2 separate regions of the Homo sapiens genome follow, and region 2 is linked to region 1. The links are contacts of gene promoters, found by promoter capture Hi-C in human tissues and cell types (Jung and others, 2019). All regions are on one chromosome and are shown on one strand. Each heading gives the region's core, a stretch centred on a gene start or on the middle of the fragment in contact. The rest is flanking DNA. Distances are from core to core; before and after follow the strand shown.

The links. Contacts are between HindIII fragments. The study calls those that stand out against the background at their distance.
Region 2: a fragment that was not itself captured here is called in contact with the fragment with the promoter of CDH6 in region 1 in 1 of the 25 tissues and cell types used here (dorsolateral prefrontal cortex).

Annotation. Positions count from the first base shown.
Region 1 is chr5:31,188,183-31,195,788 of GRCh38, forward strand. CDH6 (cadherin 6) reads left to right here and starts at 5,504. Exons shown (of 12, transcript NM_004932.4): 1 at 5,504-5,704. The HindIII fragment of the contact is 7,217 bases long and covers 1,532-7,606 here.
Region 2 is chr5:30,029,733-30,036,875 of GRCh38, forward strand. No RefSeq gene overlaps it. Among named protein-coding and RNA genes, the nearest start is that of LINC02064, 640 kb to the left of the region's middle. The HindIII fragment of the contact is 5,954 bases long and covers 1,252-7,143 here.

The sequences.
Region 1 (7,606 bases), core at 4,254-6,753:
AAAAATAAGAGGTTGGATCCAAGTTCACGAACCTCAAGCTTGACAAAAATGTAAAAGATCATTCACTTCCAAATCTGATACTTGAGCTCATTTACAACAAGAGCTTGTCTAGATTGTGATTAAATGTCTTCAGGGATGGGGCTCATGTCTATCCTAAAGCTGTCAGGCCCTTTTATCTTGAACACAAATGGCCTGAAAATCCTTTCGTATGTTGAGCTGAAATCAACCATCTGCATGTCATCAGGGCTACAATACCAATGGCAAGAAGTAGCACCATTCCTTAATGTGTTGCTGAGAAAGAAGAGACACTGACAAGTATACCATGACATGATGTTTTCTTATTATGTCAATCGTAAGAGACATCTAAATTTCAGAGTTGTTAAAATATGAAAATATGGGTGTCTTAGAATCAACTAAATGCAATTATCGTCCAGCGGCTTCACTAGCTGATCCTAATCGAAGTGTATGGCACATTAAAACCCAGTCTAATTTTCTTCCATAGGACAGTTCCTAAAGTATTTGCAAAGTATCCTTGACCAACTTAAACCTTTCCTTTTCCAGTCTTACTACCTTTAGCTCATATGCAAATCTTAAGACTATAACCATCTCCAGCTTCTGTCTACAGAACCCATTCTAGTTTATCTGAATCTCTTCTCATTCATACATGCGAGCACTAAGCACTTTTTCTACCACCCCAGATAAAATGATGACCAAAACAGACAATGACTCTGCCATCAATAATTCAATGGATATGCACTCTAGAACATGTAAACAATGACATCAAGCCAAAGTACTATAGGTATTCTATGAAATGCAGTAGAGACATAGCAAAAAAAAAAAAAGAAAGAAAAAAAAAGTATATTTAAGTGTGGTACTCAAAGAGGAACAGAAGGCTGTAGGTGAGGTCTGTCTATTCTGAAGAGACTACTAAAGCCTAGACAGAGGGTTGTCTTTCTATCTTCTCATCTTAATCTTTGTCTTCTTTTTGACAGCCATGATATACTGTAAAATTCTGATGTTCTCACAATCTATAAAATCCCAAAATATTTTTTAGCACATGCTATTATATTGTCTTTCCCACTCCAACCTGTCACTCTTCCCATCAAGTGCTTCTATAATTGGAAGGGGGTTGGTGGGAGAGAATTATTTTTCCCTCTGGAGGAAAGTAGAAGATGTTCTGTTTATTCTGGTCTATACACTTATTTAGAAGAATGTACTGAGGCAACACATTTCCTCTTAAGGAACTGTTTCTTCTAAACAAGGACATGCCCCTTCATTCCCATAATACAATCTTGATTCTCAGTCTACCAAGCTTGAGTTGTACATATCTGATCAGGCAAATTTATATTTTACTACAAACCAGTGAATAAAATGTAAAAATAATTCAGCAAAATTGAAGTCCACACTACTTACTATGAAATACCCAGAGTACTAAAATACCCTGTGTAGGTCAATAACATTTTGCTGCTGTGCATTTATCACATTTGGAAATCTTCTGGCATATTGCAATCTACCTATAGTGATGAGTCAACTATAATGATGAAGATGTCTTAATGCATCCTGGGATCCAACCCACTTTAAATACAGTATTGGAAGCTGTCCCAGGATTAGAAAACCTGGATAATCACATGAATTTTGTGTGAATTTATTTTACTTTGTATTGAGATGTCTATGGCTCTTACAAAAAGGGAATTCCATCGAGGTTTCTTGTCTCCTTTGTTTCAATTCAATAATATCCAGAGTGGTTAAAGCTTTTTTCCCCCTTAAACACAGTATGTGTATGGCGTGTGTGTGTGTGTGTGTGTGCGTGCGTGCAGCAGAGGTAGGGGATGGTCATTCATTCCTCACTGAAATCTGTGCTCGTGCACACCATGATGATTAAGCCATAAGCATTGTACTATGTGTGCTTTTCCTAGCAGCAACACATGTAGGGCTAAGTTTTAGATCAATGATTTGGATTGGTTGATCAGAGCTGCCGATGCCAATATTCTTAATTAAGTTCATGTTTTAAAAAGTGAATTTTTTCTCCTAATCAAGAATAATTGTTAATGATCATGAAAACATTTTTTATCAGGTAATCATTGCATACAGATTTGTATTATCTAAAAGAAAGTCAGAAAACATAATTATTTATTTATATGCATCCCCATTATAAAGATAAGATAGCCTCTTAATCATCTGAAGAGAGATTTAGTGGAAGTTGGAAAATCCTTCATCAAAATTAATATCCCTAATAATGGTTTATAAAGGAGATTTTTTTAAAAAAAAGAAATTGAAACTTTGCAAGCTGTAAAAGGAGAGAAGCACCAGTAATTTTGACTGAGGCATCTAAAGTAATGAAGTAGCCTAAAAACTGATGAGATGTTTCAGCTGTACCAAACTACTGAACAAAACAAGAGAATTGGGGAACAGGACACTTTCTGGATTGTCTTCCCAGGATATAAGGACACTCCTTAAATGCTCCCCCCTCTATTTGGTCCTGGGGGTGCTAGCCCCAGCTGATGGGTCCAAGACAGTACCGGACCAATCAGGGTCATTTTCTTTTCTCTCTCTCTTTTTTTTTTTTTTTTTTTTTTTTTTTTGAGACAGCGTCTCACTCTGTGGCCCAGGCTGGAGTGCAGTGGTGCAATCTTGGCCCACTGCAACCTCTGCCTCCTGGGTTCAAGCAATTCTCCCACCTCAGCCTCCCAAGTAGCTGGGATTACAGGGGCGCACCACCACACCCGGCTACATTTTTTTGTATTTTTAGTAGAGACAGGGTTTCACCATGTTGGCCAGGCTGGTCTCAAACTCCTGACCTCAAATGATCCTCCTGCCTTGGCCTCCCAAAGGGCTGAGATTACAGGCTTGAGCCACCGTGCCGGGCGTCAGGGCCATTTTCTAAGAAATTAGAAAGGGGGCTGAAAGAGAAGCCCTCTTTTCGACAGGTAAGCTCTGGAACTGTTGGGGTGCTGTTCTGCCCTGTGGACTGGAGGATGAAGGAGGCAGGTGTGAATGGAGACAAAAGGAAAGCAGAAGTGTCCTGAGGAGGAGATAGAGCTAGGGGAAGAATGCTGGCGGCTTCTCCGGGCCTGCCCCTGGGCCTTTCCAGAGACTCTGCAGAATTTCCACCCTTAACTTTCAGGAGAAACCCTATACAATAATGACACATACCTCTTCATTTGCTTAACTATCTCTGATGGGCTACTGTTACTTGCCAACATGTTTTGGTGTGATGATAGAGAACAAACCAGAAACAGAACTTACACAACTCCAAGTAATCATTTAGCCTCAGTAACTCTCAGTTCCTAGTCTCTGAAATGAGGGTAAAATAATTCTAGATATTTACATCAATCCTGTATTTGAAGATGAATAATTATTGTGACAAATATTACTAGAAAGCCTCAAAAATCACATAAAATCCTTTAGTACAAGAGCTGTCTTTTATATAATTTCATGCTGCCACCTGAACTGTTCAGAAGCAAACGGATTGTCCACTCATACAGTTGTTGTTCTAAACACCTTTGACATGTAGCTTAATGGGGTTTGAAGAATAGTATATTGCAAACAATTAGAGGTTTCCTTTGTGAGATATTAACTGGTTCAACAGACAGAAAATCAACTTCACTATCAACCCTCTTCTACCATAAAAATCAGCCAATTTGCACATTTTTTCTGCTAAAGGTGGTCTTAAAATATGACTTATTTTATTGACATATTTACGTATTATGTATTCATGTATTATCCTACTACCACATATGCTAATAAATTATACCTGTACATATAATCTGTGGGTCTCTATGTCTGCATACACACCTGCACACCCTTTTACCAATAATATTTCTGCTTCTTGTGTGTTCCAGTTTCACTGCCTTGGACATGTTATGTAACTTCTGTTGTCTCTTCATCAGTCTGTTTTCTCTGTCTTAATTGGGAAAATATGACACCACTTATTGAAGGATGAATTAAATAAAATAGTCTACAAAAGTACTTTGTAAACAGTAAAGGACTACACAGACACACAGAGCTAATATTTCCAATTAAATGTATAAGAAATTCATAATCTGACGAATGGACTATGAATCTAAAGCAGCTTTCTTCTCCCCCATTCTTACTTCATACGTGTTTAAAGAGCTCTATAAAAAGAAAATGTTCAGCCTCTTCTCACAAATTGGTAGCAATTCTTCATTTGGGGAAGGTCTTTTCCAGAAAGAAACTCAAATCTTTCCATCTTCCATGTGCAGAACATCTGTGCTAAAACCATTCCATGCACACTTCTTTGAAGCACTGGCTGCCTAAAGGAATACTTTTGATTTGGGCTTTATTTAAATGCCTGAACTTCTATTGGAGAAACAAAAGGTTTTCTAGTAAGAGCTCAGTTGGGAACAGGACCAACCTCCAGCCAGTTTAACTACTCAGAGGCCAAGCAGCCTGGCATTTCTTAGAGCTCTGTGCAATGGAAATCTCCCTGAGAACTTGCAGCACAGGCGAACAGCTGGTTTGGGAGGCTAGTGACCCTGGGTGCAATCACTGTGGTAATTAGATTTAATTTTCCTAATCCAACAGTGGCTGACTCCATCATGCCTATGTCTCCTATGTAGAAAATCATTACTCTCATTTAATGGTACTTTGACATGTTTCACATTTTTGTGGCTTAGTACCTTAACATTAGATATTACCTCTTTGTAACTATCAATCTAGCCATTCAAACAGCTATGTGTACTAAAGAGTTTAATTTGAAGGTTATCCAACTTCGGCAACTTTCCAGAAGGATCTTCGAACGTTAAGCAGACCTTGAATATCATTGTACACCCCTCTTCTGCAAGTCTTTTGTATGCTTGTATCAATTCATTTAGAACGATGGCATCAGTCATAAGTCATTGGCAAGCCTGAAGGGTTTGGGTTTTCAGTGTTTCTGCAAGCCCAGGGAAGCATGGCTTCATGCTACGACATCCTGGGGTCACTCCAAAAGAGTAACAGAGATCATGGGGCTACGTGAAAGCGTGTCTTCCTGGGAGGAGAGAAGGAAAGACATGTATGAATCTATCCATGTCTGCTTGCATCTGGAGAACGCCTGTTTATGTTGTAAAGAAAAGCCATCGGTATTGTCATCTCAGGAGACCGGCTTGTTTTATGTGTGTGCATGTTATACGTGCTATCACACGAAGCTGGCCAACTGATAGAGTGACGAGGTACTGTGTCCCTGGGAATTGTAATTGCTTGGTCGGTGAAAAAAAAAGAACATCAGACCATTGCTGATAATAGCACAAGGTGCATTTTGATAGTACAAAAGAGGAAACAGACGGAGTCATACAAGTTCTGAGTATATCTTAAACCCCCTCCAACAAAAAAAAGAAAGAAAGAAAGAAAGAAAGAAAGCAAGGGAAAGCCTGGGGCTGAAGGAGTGTTCCAGGGAGCGAATTGCTCAGGACTTCAAACACTGGGAGTCATTCTGTCAAGGGGAGGGGGCGGGCGGGGGCAGGCACTGGGCCTCTTTAACAAAGTCCTCCTCTCTTTGCTCCCTCCCACTTCATTCACTTGCAAATCAGTGTGTGCCCACAAGAGCCAGCTCTCCCGAGCCCGTAACCTTCGCATCCCAAGAGCTGCAGTTTCAGCCGCGACAGCAAGAACGGCAGAGCCGGCGACCGCGGCGGCGGCGGCGGCGGAGGCAGGAGCAGCCTGGGCGGGTCGCAGGGTCTCCGCGGGCGCAGGAAGGCGAGCAGAGGTGGGTTCGGGCTCCGTTGGCTATGCATACATCTCCCTTTTTTTTTTTTTAATTCTGTAGCGTTGATAGAAGCCAATCAGAGAGAGAGCCCTCTCCGCCCGGTGGGTGCCGCGCCGGAGTTGGGAGGGATGCTCTCAGCCTGCGAGCCCGGGTCGGGGCGGGCGCGCGGGTCCGGCTGCGCGGGCGGCGCTGCTGCCGCTGCTCAGGACCGACGCCGCTTCCCGGGGAGCCTGGGCACCGCTCCTCCGCCTCCTGGTAAGACCGATCCGCCGTGGGGCTGGGTGGGGGCACCGGGAAGCGGGCCGCCGCAGAAGAACCCGCTGCCTTTCTCTACGCCGGCAGAGGCTGCCAGGGGAGCTCTGGCATTTGCAAAGTTGGCTGGTCAATTACCAAAGGGCGCTGGTGCGTGCAGGTCCCGCCGAGCCGTTTGGGGCTTGATTTATCTCCACCTGCCCGCATCATAAGGGTCTGCGTGGTGACTGCTTGGGCTGAGTTACATTTCTTAGCTTTTGGGGTAAAGCAGAAAATCAGGTAGTCTGAAAACTCTGGAATGCTCCCAGTAAGGAAAACTTAAACTAAAGAGACGATTTGGCTGGTAGAAGGAGCTAAAGAAAACTGTTAGCTTGCACGTTCCGGGCAACGCCTGCCGGCTCATCTAGGACAGAAATGCTTAGGTTGCAAGGAAAGTCCAACACTGGACTCCGAAAATGGAGCACACTGTCCAGGGAAAAGTCATATGGAAGGCGCAGTTCGCTCGTGCTCCTCCACGGCTGGCCAGGCTCAAATCTGGGGGATAAAGCCTTCCCCGGACTGATTGGAGAGTGGTTGGAGTGCGCTTGGTTTTCGGTGCCAGATGCTGGAAAATTGGAGCCCCCAATGCGTTAATCCCAGAATTTAATAAAAAGGGACGCTGCAATGTTGTGGACTGCAGCAGTTGCAGAGCTGAGATTACTTCTTCCGTAGTTAGATATTCTGTCATGAGTTACCGTAGATCTCGAGATGGGAGATGCTGGAGAGGTCAGCGTGGTGCTAAGAAGTGTCACTGCTGCAATAAAATCCATATTTTATGGGGAGTTAAATGCAGGTCTCTGTCAGTGCAAAGGGCTGGCCACCTGAGTTAACTATGACTCAGAACATTCAAGAACCAAGAAGTTTAATCATCTGGAATAGCCACACATTTCTGTCTCCTACTCCCATTAAAAAAAAAAAAAATTTAAATGATGATAGTCATACTATAGAGGTGTATCAGACCGTGTCTCTGCGAATCTTCACTTTCACTTCGTAAAGCACACAGTGGGAAAGAAGGAAGAGGTTTTCCCTGCAAGAATGTTGCAGGAGTGGCTGTTGTGTACATATATGGCTGCTCTGGAGGGGTGCAGATCAAAATGTGGGCTTTCTGAGTGGTTAATTATCCAGGGGGTTGCAAACTCCTCCCTGTGTTGGAAAAAGGAACCCAGGGATATGCCTAGTTAATGTACAACTCTTCCAAGAAGGACTAACAAATATGCTTATATGAATAGTGCCAAGGGTTGCTTATTTCCTTTCTTTTCTTGCTGAAAGCTTTACCTGAAAAGGAAAACCCTTAGGATTTTACTTTGAGAGAGAGAAAAAAAATCTCTTCCAGTTTCACCTGAGACTTGAGCATCATCCCGTGTGTAATAGTACTTGCACGGCTCTATGCTTGCATTTTAGAGAACCGTAAAACCAGTTGTGTGAAGAAAGGGGTATGCTTGAGCAGATGTCTTCATTATGTCATAACCAGGAGGGTAAAGTTTATGCCAGAGGCCAGATTGTCAATGCAGAGCTCAGAAACTTAAAAGAAACCCAACAATTGACTGGAAAATGCAATCACATAGGGTTGTATCTCATCCCCTTTTGCTCTTTGATGTGTTCTAATTAAAA
Region 2 (7,143 bases), core at 2,979-5,478, 1.2 Mb before region 1:
AAATATTATATGAAATAAAACATCTATATATGTAGGTTTGATTTTAAGACAGTCTATGTAGAGACCGATTATCTTCAAGAAAATAAAATTTGTTGATTTTAGATATTTTCAAACTTTGCCAGCATTGAAGCCATTAGAACTCTACCCAGGTCCAACACTGAATTTTAGGTTCTTGGTTGTTATGATGTGACTGTTGGTGTCCCCCAAAATTTATGAGTTTAAATCCTAACTCCCAAGGTGATGATATAAGGAGATGGGACCTTTGGGAGATGATAAGATTATGAAGGTGGAGCCCTCATGGATGGAATTACTGCTTATAAAAGGTCCAAGAGAATTCCTTTGTCCCTTCTGCCATGTGAGGACAGGGAGAGAAGTCAGCAGTCTGCAATCCACAAGAGAAACCTCATCACAACCCAATATGCTGGCACCCTGATCTCAGACTTGCAGCTTCCTGAACTGTGAGAATAAAACATAAACAAAAAACATTCTGTTGTTTATAAGCCACCCAGTTTATAGTACCTTGTTAGAGTGGCCCGAATGCACTAAGATATTGCCAGTATAAATACTTGCATGTGCCACAACAAAGGTAAATATCTGACTCACTGAAAGATGAATTGGAGGAAGTATGTTTGCTTTTAATAACCCACTATTCTCTTCTTCACTTTCATAAACAGTGTTCCTTCATTCCAGTTACTCTGAAATGAAGGTAAAGGAAGTTGTTCGGACTAATTGCTGACAATAATAACAAGGGAGAGGAGTCAAGAAGAGCAGCCTTAGCTACCTCGAATATATTCTCACATTTACTCTGGGAAAGCTGCTGAGGCGTTGGTATGTGTTTTTGCAACAGTGACTGATTCATTCAGGTTTGTATCCCCCTTGCCAAAAGATGTCACCTGGTACCTAGTAGCACCTAATAAATACTGTGAAAAATGTGTCTAGGTAAAAGGTAATTGAATAGAGAGTCCTCAACCCTTTCCTTTAGAATTTCAGAATCTTCTGTCTTTATAAGGTTTTCCAGGGATCATAGCAATTTCTGCTGTAATTGTTGCTGCTGACAATTAAATCAACACTAACAGATCAGAACATTATTCAGAGAATATAATGCTGGTAACTTTCATTGTAGATGCTAGACACTAAGTACTACACAAATGGGTAGGAGGCACAATAGCGTCTTAAACATTTGATGAACAAATAACATAAAAGGTGGGAGTTAACCACCAAAAATAATACAATACTCTTTTCATCCTCCTGTCATTCTCCTCCACAAAAAATCCACAGCAATGATGAATAGTGTTTGTTATAGTTCTAATAATGTCATTTGATAGCAGGTTTAGGTTTTTCCTGAATCCAAGGGCTTTACATGAGTCTGAAATAAAGAACACCATTTATTGTAACTCTGACTGTTGTGTTCTGATTTCTTTTCTGGTAAATCTTTATGCTATGATTTTAGATGATGTTGAACTTTATAAATGAGGCTTAGCTTACATTATCCGGAAAAATATTATTTGTGTGAATGAGCTGAAATAAATAAATAAAAGACAGATTCTTTGTTCCTCTTTAGTAACAGCATAAGCCTCAGAGACCAAATAAAATAAGGGAGGCTTACTTCCCCTACTCGAGGTATTTGTTTCATTCCCTTGCTGGAAATGTCTTTATCTCTAGCATTTTTTATATCTCTTTTCCTGTTAAATGTACTTTGTTAAAAAAAAAAAAAGGATCTATCAGTCCTTTATACTTCCACATGAATTGAAGGCAATAAATATACCTCCCAAGAAATAGTCTTTTGAGTCTTGCCCTTAAAGAATGACACAAGTTGTTTTATTAGTGGGATTTCAGTTGAGCAGCAATGCTGGAGGAGAGGATGGTGGTTATCAAAGAGTTTTATGGGAGTCTTTTTCATCAGGAAGTAGGAAAACATTGTTCTAGGAAAAAAGTTTAAAGTATTGTGGCACTAGCATACTAATATACTCTTTGTAAGAACTGTTAAGCCAGGTATGTAATTTATATTTTTCTTTTCTATCAATCTCTGGCCATTCCTCCTATAAAGTGTACTTTCTCTTCATGTAAGGTTATGATGATTCCCCAAATATTACTGCAGACTTCCAAATTCTTTTTCTGCAGTCTCTCTGCTTATAACAAATGTCTTCTTAATGATCATAAGAAAGTAAAACATATCTTCAAAATTAAATTTAAATGTTTCTTTCCCTCTCCTCATCTGTTTATTAACTCATATTTACACCAGACTCCTCCATTATCAATGTCATGTTAGTCATGCATATATCTCTTTAATGGAATACTTGTCAATATTGAAATTATTCAGTTCCTTATCTCATTTGCTTCCCAACACATTGTAATCAACTTGATGTCAGAGTCATATCCTCACTGTCTTTGTTTCTCAAAGACCAGAAAATTAATATTACTAAAATTTTTGAAAATACAGTAAATATTTTGCAATGATTTTATCTTTTTAGGGAATTTCTTTACAGTCTTTCAACTTCAATACAACATCTTGAATTATTTAGTTTTTTTCACATATCCTTTTTTAAAGAAAATCTTTAATGCATATTTATTAATCTCTAAATTTAGAATGAAATTTTTGTCTTACCTACCTGGAATTGTCTATAATGTCTACCCTTATTCTGCCTTTTCTGACAATTTAATTATGTTCTATCAGAGATAGCTCTATTAAAATTTAAGCCAAAAACAGAAGCAACTATTTAGATAAGTTAATAATGTATCCCAATTTGTAAGAATATGTTTAAATGGCTTGATTAAAAGCAGAATGTACTGTTTTCTAAATAGTCTTCACAATTTCTTTAATTTGCCTTTCTTCTCAACTATTTGTCTTACCTCCTGAGTTCTACTCTAGAACTTTGTAGAATTAACTATTACCGCCATGTTAACAATACCTATTGATTTTTGTCTTTCAATATTAGAAAATTCAAATAAAGGCCATGAACTCAAGTGATGTAAGCCGGTTTATTTAAAATACTGTATGCTAACAACACCTCTATCTGGACTTAAATCCCTGTTGTGGCAAAAAAAAACCTACATATGCTGATAAAAGACAAGATTATAGTTCAGACATGAACTTTCCCACATTAAAAGGCAGACAGAATTTTATTTAAGCACCGTAGTTTATTGTACAATTGGAAAAATGTATCTCAAGCACAAGTGGTATGCAATTATATATCTTCACTCATTCTGTGTTAATATGTTTGCTCCTTTTTCTTAAATCAAAACATTGTTACCTAGTAATTCCCATCCTCTACATTATGGCAATGACACCACATATCTGTCTATGGATTCCTGTGCACTAGACGTATTTTAAATACTTTAAGCATGTGGATTATCTTACTTCCTTCTCACAATAAAAATATACCTAGAAATTCTCTATTTAATTACTATTTACCTAGACACATCTTTACAGTATTTATTAGGTGCTACTATGTACCAAGTGACATCTTTTGGCAAGGGGAATTGAATGAGGAAGAAATAGAAAGCTTGAACAGACCAAGAATGATTAAAAACATTAAAGAAGTAATCAAAAACCTTCCAACGGAGAAAAGTCTTAGACCAGATGGCTTCATGGCTAAATTCTAGCAAACATTCAAAGAAATATAAATACTTCCAAACACATATTATGAAGCCAGTATCACCTCGATGATACCTAAGCCAGTCAAAGACCCCACAAAAAAGAAAACTACAGGCCAATGTCCCTGATTAACATTCATGCAAAATGCTCAATATAATATTAGCAAACTGGATTCAACAACACATCAAGAAGGTTATAGATAAAGACCAAATGGGATCTGTCTCTGGCATGCAAGCCGGGACTTAACAGTTGCAAATTAATCAATATGATATATCACATTAACAGAATGGAAGATAAAAACAACATAATCTTCTCAATCGACACAGAAAAAGATTTTGACAAAGTTTAGCAATCTTTTTTTTGATACAAACTCTTAACAGTTTAGTTATAGAAGGAAAATTCCTCAACACAATAAAGTTTATTTTTGAAGACACCACAACTAACAGAAAACAACTGAAAGCTTTCCCATTACGATGTGGTACAAGGTGGGGATGCTCACTCTTACCCCTTTTATTCAACACAGAACTAGAAGTCCTATCAAAGACAGGTAGAAAGAAATAAAAGAAAAAGAAATAAAAGCCATGAAAATCGGAAAGAAGAAAAGTAAAATGATGTCAATTTACGAATGGCATATTCCTATCCAGAATATGGATTCCAAAAAAAAATTGTTCAAACTAATAAATGAATTCAGTAAATTTACAGGTATAAAATCAACATACAAAACTTAGTTGGATTTCTCTGCACACATAATAAACTATCTAAAAAGAATCAAGAAAACTATCCCATTTATGATAGTATAAAAATAGTACCAAGAAATAAATTCAACCAAGGATGTGAAATACTTGTACACTGAAAACTGCAGAGCATTGATGAAAAAAATTGAAGAAGAAACAAATAAATGAGAAAATATCCAATACCTATAAATGGGAAAAAAATTAATATTGTAAAAATGTTCATACTACCCAAAGCAATGTAAAGATTTAATGCAATTCCTATCAGAATAATACGTCATTTTTATGGAAGTAGAAAAAAGCAATTCTGAAATTAATATGAAATCACACACACACACACGAAAACAGAATAGCCAAAGCAATATAAGAAAAAAATGAAGTTACAGATGTAGCATTTCCTTATTTAAAATTATATTACAAAGCTATAGTTATCAAAAGAATGATACCTGCATAATTACAGAAACAGCCCAGTGGAACAGAATACAGAACTGACACAGTTTAGCTGTAATAATGCCCATGTATCAAGGGCAGGACCTGATAGAGATAATTGCATCATGGAGGCCGTTTCTCCCACATTGTTTTTGAGATAGTGAGTAAGTTCTCATGAGATCTGATGGTTTTATAAGGGATTTCCCCCTTGGCTTGGCACTCATTCTCTCTCCTGCCGCCCTATGAAGAGGAGCCTTCTGCATGATTGTAAGTTTCCTGGGGCCTCCCCAGCCATATATAACTGTTAGTCAATTAAACCTCTTTTTTTTAAATAAATTACTCATTCTTGGGTATTTCTTCATAGCAGTGTGAGAACAGACTAATACAGTAAATTGCTACCACAGAGAGTGGGGTGCTGCTATAAGGATACCCGAAAATGTGAAAGTGACTTTGTAACTGGCTATCAGTCAGAGGTTGGAACAGTTTGGAGGGCTCAAGAAAAGACAGGAAAATGTGGGAAAGTTTGAAACTTCCTAGAAACATTGAGGGCTCAGAAGACAGAAGAAATATGGGAAGGTTTGAAACTTCCTAGACACTTGTTGAATGGCTTTGACCAAAATGCTGATAGTGACAATAAAGTCCAGGCTGAGGTGATATCAGATGGAGATTAGGAAATCGTTGGAAACTGGAGTAAGTGTCACTCTTTCTATGCTTTAGCAAAGAAACTGGCAGCTAATTGCCCCTGCCCTAGAGATCTGTGAAACTTTGAACTTAAGAGAGATGATTTAGGGTATCTAGTGGAAGAAATTTCCAAGCAGCAAAGCATTCAAGAGGTGACAGAGCATAAAAGTCTGGAAAATTTGCTGCCTGACAATGCAGTAGAAAAGGAAAAACCAATTTTCTGGAAAGAAATTTAAGCCCATTGCAAAAATTTGCATAAGTAATGAGGAACAAAATGCTAATCACCAAGACAATGGGAAAAATGTCTCCAGAGCATGTCAGAGACCATCACAGCAGCCCTTTCCATCAGAGGTCCAGAGGGGTAGGATGGAAAATTGGTGTCCTGGGCTGGGTCCAGGGCCACCCTACTGTGTGCAGCCTCAGGACTTGGTGCCTTGCATCCTAGCCACTGCAGGTGTGGCTAAAAGGGGTCAAGGTACAGCTCTGGCCTTTGCTTCAAGGGTGTAAGCCTCAAGCCCTGGTGGCTTATATGTGGTGTTGGGCCTTCAGATGCACAGAAGTCAAGAATTTATGTTTGGGAACCTCTGCCTAGATTTCAGAGGATGGATGAAAATGCCTGGATGTCCAGGCAGAAGTTTGCAGCAGGGGTGAAACCCTCATGGAGAACCTCTGCTAGGTCAGTGTGGAAGGGAAATGTGGGGTTGGAGTCCCCAAACAAAGTTCCCACTGGGGCACTAACTCGTGGAACCACCATCCTCCAGACCTCAGAATGGTAGATCCACTGACAGCTTGCACCAATCACCTGAAAAAGCCACAGGTGCTCAATGCAAGCAGTGAAAGCAGCCAGGAGGGAGACTGTACCCTGCAAAGCCACAGGGGTGAAGCTGTCCAAGGCTGTGAGAGCCCACCTCTTGCATCAGCAAGACCTGGATGTGAGATATGGAGTCACAGGAGATCATTTTGGAGCTATAAGATTTAATAATTTCTTGTTGAATTTTGGACTTGCCTGGGGCCTGTAGTCCCCTTGTTTTGGCCAATATTTCCCATTTGGAATGGCTGTATTTACCCAATGCCTGTAGCCCATCGTATCTAGGAAGTAACTAACTTGCTTTTAATTTTACAGGCTCATAGGTGGGAAGGATTTGTCTCATGTCAGATAAGACTTTGGACATGGACTTTTAGGTTAATGCTGGAATGAATTAAGACTTTGGGGGACTGTTGGGAAGGCATGATTGTGTTTTAAAATGTGAGCACATGAGATGTGGGAGGGGTCAGAGGTGACGTGATATGGTTTGGCTGTGTCCTCACCCAAATTTCATCTTGAATTGTAATAATCCCCACTTGTCAAGGGTGAGATAATTGAATAAGGAGATAATTGAATCATGAGAGGGGATTCCTCCATACTGTTCTCATGATAGTGAGTGAGTTCTCACAAGATATGGTGGTTTAATAAGGGGCTTCCCTTTTTACTTGGCATTCATTCTCTCTCCTGCAACCCTGTGAAGAGGTAGCTTCTGCCATGATTATAAGTTTCCTGAGGCCTACCCAGCCATGAATAACTGTGAGTCAATTAAATCTCTTTTCTTTATAAATTACCCAATCTTGAGTATTTCTTCATGGCAATGTGAGAATGAACTACTACGAGAGCCCAGGAATAAATCAAAATGTGTATGGAAAATTAATTTTTGACAAGGGCACCAAGGGGAC